4 separate regions of the Homo sapiens genome follow, and all the other regions are linked to region 1. Evidence: promoter capture Hi-C in 16 types of primary human blood cells and fetal thymus (Javierre and others, 2016). All regions are on one chromosome and are shown on one strand. Each heading gives the region's core, a stretch centred on a gene start or on the middle of the fragment in contact. The rest is flanking DNA. Distances are from core to core; before and after follow the strand shown. Region 1 holds the start of SLC46A1 (solute carrier family 46 member 1). Region 2 overlaps UNC119 (unc-119 lipid binding chaperone). Region 3 holds the start of SPAG5 (sperm associated antigen 5). Region 4 holds the start of ALDOC (aldolase, fructose-bisphosphate C).

Region 1 (3,236 bases), core at 706-3,205:
GGATGAGCCACACCCTGTCCCATTCCTGATGAGGGACCTTGGCCTCTCCTAGCCTTAGTTCTTTATCTAAGAAATAATTCCAAGGATTTAGCCAAGTACCCCTCCCTCACTGCAGCTGACCTAACTGGGCCAAGCTTTTGTGTAAGTGGTAGGGAGGAGTTGGAAGGGGAGGGAGGAGAGTGGAGCCAATCCAGAGGCTTGAATGTTTAATGTGGAATTTCCTCTCTCTAGGGGACCACAGGTGGGGGCAGCTTGCAGGGGGAGGTTATTCAGTTCACTAGTATCTAGCCAGCACCTACCCATCCTGAGTCTCGGACTCCTGGCTCAGGGGAGGTGGGGTAGCTAACAAGCTCCAACAGGCCCAGGCACAGTCACAGTGGCCAGAATTGGAGCCATCCATCCTCCCAAGAATCAGGCCTGTCAGGACCTGCCTCCAGAAACCCACTCAGCTGCTCTGTTCTCAGGGAAGGTGGCCTTTCCTGATTCTGCTCCCCCTACCTCCAGCCCCTGAATTAGCACCCTTGGAGTTCAAAACTATTTTCCACGGTTGGAATTTTGTATCAATTAGTAGGATTCTTTGACTATTTTTCCTCTCCCACCATTCTAGAAACTAACGGGCCTGGTGAGGGCTTTGTCTATTTCCTTTCCTGTTGTGGTCCCGGAGTCCCCCAGCACAGTGCCTGGCACGTAAGGGGCACTCAGTAAATGAGCTGAATGAATGAAAGATAGGGGAGTAAGGAAGGTAATGCTGTTCCTTTTTACAGGCAATAAAACAGAGGCCCAGACAGGGTCTGACCTCCTCAGCAGCAGAGCAGGTGACTGCCTTCTGGCCTAATTCCTATAATGGGAGCCACCCAGGAGCATAGGTTCACACCCAAGGACCTCCCAGGCCCTCCCCCATCTTCTCTAAGGGAACTGCAGAGCCAGGCCCTGCCTGACCCCAGAAACAAGACTAGTTTCCCAGGAAAAGATCCTAGGGCAGGAGTGGAGCAAGTGACAGCTTGTTTTTTATTTTATTTTTATTTTATATTTTTTGAGACAGGGTCTTGCTCTGTCACCCAGGCTGGAGTGCAGTGGTGCGATCTCAGCCCACTGCAACCTCTGCCTCCTGGGCTCAATTGATCCTCCCACCTCAGCCACCCGAGTACCTGGGACTACAGGTATCTGCTACTACGCCTGGCTAATTTTTGTGTATTTTTTGTAGAGACAGGGTTTTACCATGTTGCCCAGATTGGTCTCGAACTCCTGGGTTCAAGCGATCCATGCGCCTCAGCCTCCAAAAGTGCTGGGATTACAGGTGTGAGCCACCACTCCCAGACGTGACAGCCTGTTAATAGCAATAATAGCACTTTGAATATACCAGACACTGCTTTTCCACAACTTTTTGAGACATGTTTTGTTAGCAACTCCATTTTACAGATGAAAAAACAGAGGCTCAGGGTGGTAAGTGGCATGCCGAAGGTAGTGGCAGAGCCTAGGTGCTCCAACCCAGGCAGCTGGGCTCAGCCCACTCCGATCCTCTCCAGCTGCCTCTCTGTTACAGCGCAGAACATCAGCAGCATCAGGAGTCATGTGCTCTTCCAGCTCTGCCTTGAGTACCCGATGACCTCGTTTCCTCAGCGGTAGATAGCGATGGTTAATATTGGCTAGCCTGTAGAGTTATCGGGAGACCAACGCACAAAAAGGGTTTAATACCGTGCCCAGCACATAGTAAGTGGTCAATACATGTTAATTGTTGATATTCTTGTTATCTGTGGTGTGTCTGGGCCGGGAGGGAGGGCTGCAGGGCGGTGTCTACGCACACTTTACAGGTGAGGTCATCCCGCGGGCTGGGGGTGCCGGGCCCCTCGCTGGCCCACGCCCAGCCAGGTGCACCCGCGGCGAGAGTCCGGTGGCCTCAGGTCACAGGCCCCTCCCCGCCGGACATTTAAGGAGGGACGCCGGGCGCAGGCGCAGACAGCGCAAGCCCCACGCCACGCGTCGCTGGTCCCAGGCAGCGAGTCGCTCGCGCGCCCCGCCGCCCGCCTGGCGACAGCTCCGCCGCGCACGCACATGGAGGGGAGCGCGAGCCCCCCGGAAAAGCCCCGCGCCCGCCCTGCGGCTGCCGTGCTGTGCCGGGGCCCGGTAGAGCCGCTGGTCTTCCTGGCCAACTTTGCCTTGGTCCTGCAGGGCCCGCTCACCACGCAGTATCTGTGGCACCGCTTCAGCGCCGACCTCGGCTACAATGGCACCCGCCAAAGGGGGGGCTGCAGCAACCGCAGCGCGGACCCCACCATGCAGGTAGCGGGGCGGCGAGGAGCCTGGCAGGTGGAGGGCCCTGGTCTGGAGCGTGGGGGCAGCGGAGGGGCGGGGCCTGCGTAATGGTAGTGGCGGGTAACTGGAGGGAGGGTGCATTTTGGATGGTGGGCGGGACCAGAGCAAAGGGGCCTGACCGAGAACCTCAGCGGGTGGGATGCGAAAAGCTGAGCTAAAGTCTGGCCTTGCAGGTTAACAAAAGGGGGGGGAAAGGAAAGGGAATGGGGCCTTGGTCCATGTCCTTCCCCCTCTCCACTGGCAGATTTTGAAAGCTGTGCTAAGATTCTCTGAGGTTTAGGGCTCCAAAGGAAGTCCTCATCCCTGTAGCTCCCGGGATGGCGAGGATTTGGGGATTGTGGAACCCAGAGTGAGGAACCGCACCCTGGTCATTGTGCCCCTACAGGAAGTGGAGACCCTTACCTCCCACTGGACCCTCTACATGAACGTGGGCGGCTTCCTGGTGGGGCTCTTCTCGTCCACCCTGCTGGGAGCTTGGAGCGACAGTGTGGGCCGCCGCCCGCTGCTAGTGCTGGCCTCGCTGGGCCTGCTGCTCCAGGCCCTAGTGTCCGTTTTTGTGGTGCAGCTGCAGCTCCACGTCGGCTACTTCGTGCTGGGTCGCATCCTTTGTGCCCTCCTCGGCGACTTCGGTGGCCTTCTGGCTGCTAGCTTTGCGTCCGTGGCAGATGTCAGCTCCAGTCGCAGCCGCACCTTCCGGATGGCCCTGCTGGAAGCCAGCATCGGGGTGGCTGGGATGCTGGCAAGCCTCCTCGGGGGCCACTGGCTCCGGGCCCAGGGTTATGCCAACCCCTTCTGGCTGGCCTTGGCCTTGCTGATAGCCATGACTCTCTATGCAGCTTTCTGCTTTGGTGAGACCTTAAAGGAGCCAAAGTCCACCCGGCTCTTCACGTTCCGTCACCACCGATCCATTGTCCAGCTCTATG
Region 2 (3,563 bases), core at 149-2,648, 140 kb before region 1:
AGAGGAGTCCACAGAGCTGGGGCTTGGACCCCAGCATTCTCAGGAGTCTGCAGGCAGGGGGGCCCTTTCTTTTCCTTCCCATATGTTTCTGAGGCTGGACATCTTGCGAGGTCAGCCCTACCCCTTCGGTCCCTGCCAACCTGCCCTCTGCAGGGCTCTCTGGGAACTGCAGTCCTACGGGTCCCAGGCCTCAGCATCCTGTGGCCCGGGGAAGCACAGTGGCGATTGGGAACATGCAGACCTAGAACCCCTAGGTGGCACTATTTGGCCAATGGTCTGAGCCCTCAGTGTGCCCCGGAATTTCTTGGGGAGTTTAAAAAAAATCAGATAGATGGGGACCCAAGGGTAGAACCCTGGGTGGACAAGGGCCCAGCCTGAAGCCCACTGAGCCCCAGCTGGGGTACATTGCAGAACGGTTGCCCATCAACCGGCGGGACCTGGACCCCAATGCTGGGCGCTTTGTCCGCTACCAGTTCACGCCTGCCTTCCTCCGCCTGAGGCAGGTGGGAGCCACGTGAGTCGCTGGGCTATGGGTGGTGGTGGGGGTGAGGGAGAGGGTGTGAGTGGGCCCTTCTCAGCCTCTCGTAGGGGTGGCCTGTCCTGAGCCTGGCTGGCTAGTTGACTTCAAGGACAGACTTAGCCCTGCCTCCTTTTCTTGCTCAGGGTGGAGTTCACAGTGGGAGACAAGCCTGTCAACAACTTCCGCATGATCGAGAGGCACTACTTCCGCAACCAGCTACTCAAAAGCTTCGACTTCCACTTTGGCTTCTGCATCCCCAGCAGCAAGAACACCTGCGAGCACATTTACGACTTCCCCCCTCTCTCCGAGGAGCTGAGTGCGCGGGCAGGGTCTTCTGGGAGTGGGGAAGTGGGGGCGTCTAGAGACTGAGCTGCGGGAGGGAGAGGGACTTGTGGGTCTGATCCCATTTCTCCCCACCCTGGGGCTCTTCTGTGTCTGCCACCATTCCCATATCATCCGTAGAGAAAGAGGCTGGGGATATTTCAGGCTGTTTGGCTGTCCCTGTACCCCAGTCCTGAAGCCCCTGCAGTGGCGGGACTCAAGCTCCTGACCTTTGCCCGGCCTGGCTGGGCCTCTCTTGCAGTCAGCGAGATGATCCGCCACCCGTATGAGACCCAGTCTGACAGCTTCTACTTCGTGGATGACCGGCTGGTGATGCACAATAAAGCAGACTATTCCTACAGCGGGACACCCTGACCCCACGGCTGCCCTGACCCCAGGAGGCTCCAGTTCTGGGCTGGGAGCTGTGACCTCCCCAACGCTCACCCCTCAACCCCAAGTCCTCTGCTTGGGGAGTTCTCCAGGAGCTCCGGACCCTGAGTCAATGTTGGGAGGAAGGGTACCTGGTGTCCCCAGTCAAGCCCATGAAGCCCATGCGGCCTGCTACATGGGGTGGGGTCGTAGGGAGGCTGTTTGCCTCCACGTCTAGGAAGGCCTGTGAGAGGAGCAGTCAGGACTTCCGGACAACTTAGCTGGGCCCTACTTGGGCCCAAGTTTCAGAATAGTGTTCCCCTATCAAGGCTGTGACTAGATCAGGCAGGGATCCATTCCCTGTCCCCTGCCCACTACCTTCAGGCCATTTAGAGTTGTAAATTTACAAAGATCCACGGTGGGCTCCAGCTGCCAAGCCACCCAAGGGAGTCTGGGCCCTAGGCCTAGCCCCATCCCTCCCCATGAGGGGCCAAGACACTGCCTAAGGTGTGGGAGGGACTGGCTGAGATTGCAGCCCATGGTAGGAGCTGGACCAACTGTATATAGTTTTCAATAAACTTTTTCCTTTTCTGTTCTCTGGTGTGGCCAGCCTCTGTGTGTATGGGCAAAGAAGGGAGCAGGGATAGGCAGGAATGTGCTTAAGGCAGTAAAAATTTCTCCTACCTCCCACATTCCAGTGCACTCTCACCCCTTAGTCTTCCTGTCCCCTGATTCTCTGTACCCTGACACCATATAGAGTCAGCATTTAGAACATGATGGAGCTGGAGAGGGTCTTTCTTGTGATGAAGGAGACCCAGACCCTGAGAGGGGAAGCTTTGGCCCAAAGTCAGAGCCAACCCTGGCAGAACAGAGGCCGAAACAAAGGCCCTGAACTCCAGGGTGCAAGGGGAAGGTGTGGGGGGTGGGGGTTTGGCCTTGTCCTCCACGCTACCTTCCCTGAACCCCAGAGGCCACTAGGACCACTGGGTTGTGTTTTTAGCCCTCATGATAGACGGTGGCAGGGCTTTGGCTAAGGCCTGGAGCCATCTCCTTGCCCTCAGCTGCCTTGGGGAGCCCCCATGCCTGGGTAGCCCTGCACATAACACTGCCCTCAGCCTCCACCCCCACCCCAGACTCAGAGGAGGGGGCTGCTTAATGGAGGAAATTCAGGAACTGAGGTGGGCAGAGAGCACACCCTACAGTTTCAGGCCCTCCTTCAGATATGCCCAGAGCTGACGCACCCTCTGGGCTGAGGAGCTCTGGCCCTAGGAGGCCCAGAAGTGCTGGCATTCAGCTTGATTCTGTGAAGCCCTTGCTGGGGGAAGTGGGGTGGAGCTAGGATCTGCACTGAATTCTGGGAATTCTGAAATGAGTGAGACACAAGGAACACATACTCGTCCCTAGGGAAAAAAAAAGGACTGGGGACACGGAGAGCAAGAATCAGAGTCGTTCTGTGTGGAGGGTTCTGGGGAGGATTTTTAGAGGAGGTAGCACTGGAGCAGGTGCTTGTGATGGAAATTGATGGGGAAGAGTGCTTAGGCACAGGGAACAGCATAAACAAAGGCTCAGAGGCAAGATTTGTCAGGTGTTTGTTTGTTTGTTTACTTATTTATTTGAGATGGGGTCTCCCTCTCAAACTCCTGGGCTCAAGGGATTTTCCTGCCTTGGCCTCCCAAAGTGCCAGGATTATGGGCATAAGCCTAGGTGTGTTCAAGAGTCAATATGATGTGAAAAGAAGACAGATTGGCAGAGCCTTAGGAGCAGGGCTTCTGAGAAGTGGGGAGCCCCTGTGGAGGATTAAGTGGGCATGACCTGGTCAGATTATCTCTGGCTGCTGAGTGAATGGTGGATTGGAAAGAATGACACTAATAGCCAAGATTTACTGAGTGCCAGGCTGGGTGCTCTACATGTGTTAACTCATAAACATGGTCATTTCTGAGGAAGGCACTATTATGATGCCCATTTTACAGAAAATGTAGGTCCAGAGAGGTTAATGTACCCAGCCAACGTTGCACAGCTATGAAGTGGCAGAGCCAGGACTTGAATCCAGGCAGTCCGGCTCCATGCACTACCATACTAAAGGCAGGGGGGCAGTGAGGATGAGGAGGGTGCTGCAGGAATCTGGTGAGAGAGAAAGAGAAACTGAATTAGGTCAGTATCCTCAAAGATGGAGAGAAACAGGTGAAACTGATATTTTTAAGAGGTGAGATCCTCAGGAGTGGTGGCTGATTGGATGAGTGGGTTGGAGAGAGGGAGGAGGTGAGGCTGACTGCCTGGTTTGTGGCCTGGGTGCTGGGGTAGCTACAGGTGCCATCACTGGGTTTGGGAATGCAGGTTGGATCAAGGTGGATGC
Region 3 (3,720 bases), core at 302-2,801, 190 kb before region 1:
GAGTCTAGCTCTGTCACCCAGGCTGGAGTGTAGTGGTGCCATCTCAGCTCACTGCAACCTCCGCCTCCCAGGTTCAAGAGATTCTTCCTGCCTCAGCCTCCCAAGTAGCTGGGATTACAGGCGTGTGCCACCACACCTGGCTAATTTTTGTATTTTTAGTAGAAACGGGGTTTCGCCGTGTTGGGCAGGCTGGTCTCGAACTCCTGACCTCAGGTGATCCGCCTGCCTCGGCCTCCCGAAGTGCGGGATTATAGGCGTGAGCCACCGTGCCCGGCCCAAATTTTTTTTTTGTAGACATAGGTCTCACTATATTGCCGAGGCAGGTCTCGAACTCCTGGGCTTAAAGGATCCTCCTGCCTCTGTCTCCTCCGTGCTGGGATTACAGGCATGAGCCACCGCACCTGGCGATATTTTGCATTCTTTTTTTCATACGACGTGTTTGAAATCCAGTTTGTACAGTGTTTTACATTTATAGCACATTCCCACTGGGACTAGTCACATCTGAAGTGCTCAAAAGCCACTATGGCTAGGGCTAACGTACTGGACAACACAATGCTAGAGGAGCCCGTCCCTGAGGACGCTGCAGTTTATAACATCATAGTTCCTCCTCTTTGGACTGCTGCTTTCCCCCTATGTATTAAGACTTGCAGAGTGTAAACAGGGCGCCGTGAGTGTGCAAAGCACACACACCTTCGCAAACGGCTCACTCTGAATACTGACCTTTCGGCTGTCCTACCTTCAACAGGTTTCCCGTGCATAGGAGATCCAAGACAGCAGAAGGCAGGAGCTGGCGGGACAGGGAGGAAGAGCGGCTCTGCCGTTTACTATCTGTGTGACGCTGAGCAAATTACACACGGTCTCTCTGACTCAGCTCCTTCCTGTCACAAATGGGGATATTTATAGTATTTCTCACTACGTAGGTCCTTATGCGCATTAAATGAGCTACTACACGGCATTCGGCATAGCGCCAGGCACACACTCAATGTTCAATACATGTAGGCGGTTAGCCCAGTAAACTGGTAGCCGGCCTGAGTAAGTCCCAGGAAAAGCCCAGAAACTCTGGAGACATTACAGCCCAGGTCGAGAACCACGGCCCGGGCCGTCCCGGACGCGGGCCCACCAAGCCTAGGGAAGCCGCTCGGCACCGCTTCGGCTTCTAGACTCCCTGGCCGGCTCTTTCCCGTCAAGGCTGCGGCTGGAGAGGACTGAGGGAGACCTAGGGAGAGGATTCCTCTTCTCCATCCACGGAGACAACTTGGATATGAACACCATGGATGTGAGGAGGTCCGCTGGAAGCAGGAGGGATGGACTCCTGGACTCTCCAGCTACCTGCGTGGTCCTCCCCGGTGTGAGGACAGAAGACCGGTCCTGGGCCGGGCCCGCATCCAGCCCTACCGCCGGTGTCTGAGGTGAGGGCTCCGTCAGCGGAAAACGCTCGACAACGGAGGGGCAGGCAGGGCCGGGGGCGTGGTCAACGCGGGCCCCGCCCCCCGGGCTCTACCCCCGAGCGTACGCGCGCGCCTGAAGCAGCCAACCAGGAAGCGCAGAGCAGGTTCAAACACAGACGGCGGGTGAACATGGCGTCCTCGACTTGGTCTGAGACGTGATAGGCCTGCCTTCTGGTTGAAGATGTGGCGAGTGAAAAAACTGAGCCTCAGCCTGTCGCCTTCGCCCCAGACGGTAAGCGGGAGATCTCTGGCGGAGAGAACTGGGCCGGGCTGCTGTCGCGGGGGCACCGGCCGTGTCTACTGTCCTGGAAAGTTGGGTCGAGCCCGGGGTTGGGGGCTTGTGGAGTCTTTGTTCGCCTTGCTGCTCCTGCGCGACTAGGGTGCGAGCGTACTCTTCTAATCGCATTTTGGGCTTCTTAGGGAGGGAGGAGGGGCGGGCTGGCAGAACCCAGGCTTCCTCACACTCGCCCTCTTTCTTGGTTTCTTTCTCAGGGAAAACCATCTATGAGAACTCCTCTCCGTGAACTTACCCTGCAGCCCGGTGCCCTCACCAACTCTGGAAAAAGATCCCCCGCTTGCTCCTCGCTGACCCCATCACTGTGCAAGCTGGGGCTGCAGGTGAGATTCGCCTGGACAGCTTCTCGACTGGGCTGTTTGCCCAGGGTGAGAGCTCAGGGGAACAGAGGGCCAGGGCTACAATAATTAATAACGATAATGAAGTCTTCTACGTCGGTGACATCCATTTACAGCTATTCAGGCCAACAGAGAGGTGCCCTAGGGTGGTTAAAGGAAATCCAGTGAGAACTTGAATCTCTGTTTAGCTGTTAGTTTTTATTACCTCCTCCTCCTCCCTTCGACCTTTATCAAACTATTGAGAAATCCTACCACCCTGATTAGTGCTCTTCCTCCAACATGGGGTCACTTACGGAAAGGTCAGTCACCTGCAAGATTGAGGCAATATCCATTTACTCTAGGAGGTAGTTAGAACTCTCCTGGGATCAAGTTACACCACTGGAAGGTAGGGTACTTGAATCACCTTAGTTTAAACTAGCTCCTTGCAGAATTGCCCTCACTGATTTGTACTTTTGTTAAACGTTTTGAGAGACGTAGCCATGTAGAAACTGCATTTCAGTTGCTGTCAAAACTTGTCAAGGAAGCAGCTTGACTCCTGTATAAGATTCCTCCAAGAAAGGCTTTAGGACTAACTGCCTGGAAAAATTGTCTTCCTGAAGAAATTGCTATCCTTTTCTTTCTGATAATGAGAACTATGTAGTTTACCATATTTTCCCTCTTGCTCTGCCTTCTAGAAAGCTCAAGGCCAAACTGGATCATCACATACAGCTACTGTTATAGCTGTATAGGAAGTTTTGCTTCCTCTTTTTTGACCATGACTTTGTTATTTCATTAATCGTATCTATTCATTTTCATGCATATGAATTATTTTTGGAAGGAGATGGGATATCAATAAAATAGGTATGAGGAGGAAAGAAGAGTGTATAGACAGATGACATCCTGAGTAACAGAAGTATGATGATAGCATAGCAGTCTTTCTTGAAAGAGTTGCAAAATACCTACTGTCCAATAGAACTTTCTGGGATGAGGGAAATATTTGATAATCTGTGCTGTCCAGCATGGTAACTACTAGTCACATGGTTATTGAGCACTTAAAACGTGGCTGAGGTGACTGAAGAATTGAATTTTTTTGTTTTTGAGACGGAGTCTTGCTCTGTCACCCAGGCTGGAGTGCAGTGGCGTGATCTTGGCTCACTGCAATCTCCGCCTCCAGGGCTCAAGCGATTCTCCTGCCTCAGGCTCCTGAGTAACTGGGATTACAGGTGCACACCACCACGCCTGGCTAATTTTTTGTATTTTTAGTAGAGACAGGGTTTCACAATGTTGGCCAGGCTGGTCTCAAACTCCTGACCTCAAGTGGTCCGCCCGCCTCGGCCTCCCAAAGTGCTGGGATTACAGGTGTGAGCCACTGTGCCTGGCCTGAATAATTGAATATTTAATTTAATTTAATTTAATTAATTTTTTTTTGAGATGGAGTTTCGCTCTTGTTGCCCAGGTTGGAGTCCAATGGCGCGATCTCGGCTCACCGCAACCTCTGCCTCCCGGGTTCAAGCGATTCTTCTGTCTCAGCCTCCGGCATGTGCCACCACACCCAGCTAATTTTTGTATTTTCAGTAAAGACGGGTTTCTCCATGTTGGTCAGGCTGGTCTCGAACTCCTGACCTCAGGTGATCTGCCCGCCTCCGCCTTCCAAAGTGCT
Region 4 (3,741 bases), core at 181-2,680, 170 kb before region 1:
CTGTACCCCTGTTGATCTGGACATATTTCTAGGTGGACAAACTGAGAGTGATGTTCCTGGAGATGAAAAATGAGAAGGAAAAACTCATGATCAAGTTCCAGAGCCATGTAAGAATGTCCATGCCATTCCAGGGCCATTTCCTACCATCGTTAACAAATGCCCCGCCATGTTTCCCCTGTCCTACCAAGTTTGCTCTTTTATGCATAGGACTTATAAAATCTGTTTGCTTTCTAGAGAAATATCCTAGAGGAGAACCTTCGGCGCTCTGACAAGGAGTTAGAAAAACTAGATGACATTGTTCAGCATATTTATAAGGTATAGGCAGGAGGGAGGTGATATCACTAATGAACCTGGTACAAGGCCTGGCCCCAGGAGGTACTAATGAGCACAGATCTGGTTCCCAGCCTGTGCTGAGAGCTGGGCCTGAATCACTATTGCAGGCTTCTCTGTGGTGTCTGTTTTCTCCCCTCTAATTCAGCGGCTGCCTCCTGGGGCTGGGAGCCCTGGGCCTTAAGTCTGTGGTCCTGAGCTGCGTTTTCTGCCTCTCTTCCCAGACCCTGCTCTCTATTCCAGAGGTGGTGAGGGGATGCAAAGAACTACAGGGATTGCTGGAATTTCTGAGCTAAGAAACTGAAAGCCAGAATCTGCTTCACCTCTTTTTACCTGCAATACCCCCTTACCCCAATACCAAGACCAACTGGCATAGAGCCAACTGAGATAAATGCTATTTAAATAAAGTGTATTTAATGAATTTCTCCAAGCTTACGGAATCTTACTTTTTGGGTGAGAGGGGGCGGATGATGAAGTCAGGGAAGAAGCAGCTTGGGCCTCCTGCCTGGGCACCCTCCATAGATCCCTCTCCACCTCCTGCTGCATCCAAAGCCAAGGCTGCCTGCCCTTCCTCCCTTCCTCTGCTTTCACCAAAACTCTGGGCACTGGACTGCTTGTTCCCTGGCTCACCGCCTGGAGGAAACAGAAAGGCTTCATTCTCTTACTTTCCCCAGCCCCCTCGGGGGTATACCCTGGCAAATATGGGGGTGAGGACAGAGAAGCTCAGTTCATTACTTCCTGCCCTGAACTTGGGCACCTTGAAGATGCTTCTGCCCCACCTACTCAACCTGTTGTTACTGTTCTGGTGCCTCCTCTTCACCAGACTAAGCTTAATCCCCAGCATCCAGCAAGTGCCCGGCACGTGGTAAAGGGATTGTGGCAGAAATGAACGCAAGGTCATGGCCAGGCTCCCCGAGGTGGGAGGGCAGTCCCTAACAGCCACGGATGCCTGGCGGGGCGCTCACTCCACCTCGCCGCCCCGCCTCTGAGGGCGTGGTCTTGCCCCGGACACCAGTCCTGGGGAGGGGGTGTGGTCAGGGCGGGGCATGCAGGCCACGCCCCCGGAGGAGTCACGTAGCTCTGCGACATCCGCAGCCTCATTTACCAGAGGGAGCCAGGGCTGCAGCCTCATCTGTTTGCGGATCAGAACCCGAGCTGTGCTTGTGGCTGCGGCTGCTAACTGGCTGCGCACAGGTAAGGCCAGGCAAGGCGGGAGCCACTCAACATCTCCGCTTCATTTCCTTGGCTCTTCCCCTGCCATCCTCGTCCTGCTACCTGGGACTCCGGGATGTGCCCTTTCGACCCTTTCCTAACATCTTTGCTCCTTTCCGCGTACTTGAAACCCCATGGCTCAACCTCTTCTGTTCTATCCCTCTTCAGCTCTCCCAGCTGGACCTCAGCTTTTCCAATCCCAAATCCTCCTCTACTTGTTGGATTTTTCCTTGGAGTCTGTCTCTCCTACCCAGAGCATTTCCTTCTCAGCCTGCTCCCTCTCCTCCTAGGCTAGGTCCTCTCTCCAGTTCTCCCGCCTTCTCTGCCCCCCGGTCTAGGTCTCTCCCGCTGACTGGTTAGCCTGCATCACCACTAGCTCCCCTCAGTCTCATCTCTCTCTCAGGCTCTCTACTCCTTTCAGCCTTGGTCCTCTGCCCTCCCGTCTGGGTGTCTGAGTTGTGGGGAATTGAAGTGCTTCCTATTGCTATCCTCCTGCCAAACAGGTGAAGTGCTTCCTGGGCACAGAGATGACCCGGAGGTGTCACTAGCCCTAGTCTCCACACACTAACACAGCTGACCCGCTGGGCCCTCTTTCCTACATCACTGCAGCCCCACTGGGGCCAACCTCTGGTACTGGGTGGGAATAGGCAATAGGCATAGGCAGGCAGGTTTGGAGTACAGAAAAGGAGAAGCTGCAGGAGCCTGTGACTGGTATTTGTGCCACTCCTACTCCCTACCTGTTCTTCCAACCTTTTCCTCTAGAAGCTGAGAGAAGAGGGTGGCAATAAGTACTTTTGCCTCATTCTGAAGCCTTGGAAGTAAGTACACTTTCCCTAGGGGTCCTGTGGAGGATGAGAAAAGGGAAGCTGGAAAGGCCAGGACTTTTGCCTACCTCAACAAGGGACCAAGTTCAGTGAAAGAAGGGTTGGCATCCTTGATTGGGCAGCAGATTTATCAGAAGAGCTGTGGCTTCAGGGCTGCTCACCTCCCCACCCCCACCCTGCATCTTTCCCCAGGGCTGGGAAGGATGCCTACCAGGGACAAAAGGAGATGTGGGAACTGGAGCCCTAAGCTTGCTAGCTGTCAGAAGGACTGGTGCCACTTGATGCCCAGGACTCATGCCAAGGACTGCTGCCCTGTTCCCAGCCCCTTGCTTGATGGGGAGGCCATTTGGCCCATCTGGCCAGGAGAGGCAGCAGAGGGTGAGGTCTGGCTTTTTTATCTTGTCTCCACTCCAGGGAGCTGTCACCATGCCTCACTCGTACCCAGCCCTTTCTGCTGAGCAGAAGAAGGAGTTGTCTGACATTGCCCTGCGGATTGTAGCCCCGGGCAAAGGCATTCTGGCTGCGGATGAGTCTGTAGGTAAGTGGACATCTGTAGCCAGGTAGGGTACAGGTGGCTAGGGGACCCTGGGGATGTTCTCACTGCCTCTCTTTGTTTGCCCCTAGGCAGCATGGCCAAGCGGCTGAGCCAAATTGGGGTGGAAAACACAGAGGAGAACCGCCGGCTGTACCGCCAGGTCCTGTTCAGTGCTGATGACCGTGTGAAAAAGTGCATTGGAGGCGTCATTTTCTTCCATGAGACCCTCTACCAGAAAGATGATAATGGTGTTCCCTTCGTCCGAACCATCCAGGATAAGGGCATCGTCGTGGGCATCAAGGTGCAGCCCCTGGCCCTGCTCTGAATGGAAGCTGGGTGTGAAAATAAGCTTGTGTAGGAGGGGTAGCAAGGAGAATCCTGCCTGGATTCAACCCTCTGCTTGTACTTCCTCTACAGGTTGACAAGGGTGTGGTGCCTCTAGCTGGGACTGATGGAGAAACCACCACTCAAGGTATAGGATGGGTGGGCTTGAGGACCAAAGAGGTGTTAGATAGTTGATGCTGGTAAAAGAGGGGCAGAGTAATGAGGTTGGCACTGTGCTTGCAGGGCTGGATGGGCTCTCAGAACGCTGTGCCCAATACAAGAAGGATGGTGCTGACTTTGCCAAGTGGCGCTGTGTGCTGAAAATCAGTGAGCGTACACCCTCTGCACTTGCCATTCTGGAGAACGCCAACGTGCTGGCCCGTTATGCCAGTATCTGCCAGCAGGTGTGTGTGTTGGGAGGGTGGTGAGCTAGGTGCCCTGTATGCCTGGTGGGGAGAGAGTCACAAGGCTTTCTTCATCTCCCCTACTGCCCCTCCCAAGCATCTCTGCTCTTGC

The links. The method cuts DNA at HindIII sites, captures the fragments that hold promoters and counts their contacts. A CHiCAGO score of 5 or more calls a contact.
Region 2: a fragment that was not itself captured here is called in contact with the fragment with the promoter of SLC46A1 in region 1 in 2 of 17 cell types (M0 macrophages and M1 macrophages); the score reaches 5.3 in M0 macrophages.
Region 3: a contact is called between the fragment with the promoter of SPAG5 here and the fragment with the promoter of SLC46A1 in region 1, in 5 of 17 cell types (endothelial precursors, naive CD8 T cells, total CD8 T cells and 2 more). The highest score is 7.6, in endothelial precursors.
Region 4: a contact is called between the fragment with the promoter of ALDOC here and the fragment with the promoter of SLC46A1 in region 1, in 4 of 17 cell types (erythroblasts, megakaryocytes, naive CD4 T cells and 1 more). The highest score is 5.6, in erythroblasts.

The regions. Positions count from the first base shown.
Region 1 is chr17:28,404,931-28,408,166 of GRCh38, reverse strand. It overlaps SLC46A1 (solute carrier family 46 member 1), which reads left to right and starts at 1,955. Exons shown (of 5, transcript NM_080669.6): 1 at 1,955-2,280; 2 at 2,699-3,236. The coding sequence starts at 2,053. RefSeq lists silencers at 1,774-2,113, 2,314-2,473 and an enhancer at 2,941-3,236. The HindIII fragment of the contact is 6,961 bases long and covers 137-3,236 here.
Region 2 is chr17:28,544,950-28,548,512 of GRCh38, reverse strand. UNC119 (unc-119 lipid binding chaperone) reads left to right here. Exons shown (of 5, transcript NM_005148.4): 3 at 412-514; 4 at 664-836; 5 at 1,104-1,805. The coding sequence ends at 1,216. Among named protein-coding and RNA genes, the nearest start is that of UNC119, 5.9 kb to the left of the region's middle. RefSeq lists enhancers at 1-741, 725-774, 795-904, 742-1,579. The HindIII fragment of the contact is 1,297 bases long and covers 750-2,046 here.
Region 3 is chr17:28,596,856-28,600,575 of GRCh38, reverse strand. SPAG5 (sperm associated antigen 5) reads left to right here and starts at 1,551. Exons shown (of 24, transcript NM_006461.4): 1 at 1,551-1,680; 2 at 1,941-2,066. The coding sequence starts at 1,630. SPAG5-AS1 (SPAG5 antisense RNA 1) reads right to left here and starts at 1,443. Exons shown (of 3, transcript NR_040012.1): 1 at 1,330-1,443; 2 at 721-878. RefSeq lists enhancers at 1,041-1,120, 1,345-1,889 and a silencer at 1,331-1,640. The HindIII fragment of the contact is 7,511 bases long and covers 1-3,720 here.
Region 4 is chr17:28,574,584-28,578,324 of GRCh38, reverse strand. It overlaps ALDOC (aldolase, fructose-bisphosphate C), which reads left to right and starts at 1,430. Exons shown (of 9, transcript NM_005165.3): 1 at 1,430-1,524; 2 at 2,781-2,904; 3 at 2,991-3,202; 4 at 3,319-3,373; 5 at 3,469-3,629. The coding sequence starts at 2,793. SPAG5 (sperm associated antigen 5) reads left to right here. Exons shown (of 24, transcript NM_006461.4): 22 at 33-107; 23 at 235-315; 24 at 555-751. The coding sequence ends at 626. RefSeq lists an enhancer at 1,028-1,207 and a silencer at 1,258-1,497. The HindIII fragment of the contact is 1,455 bases long and covers 1,162-2,616 here.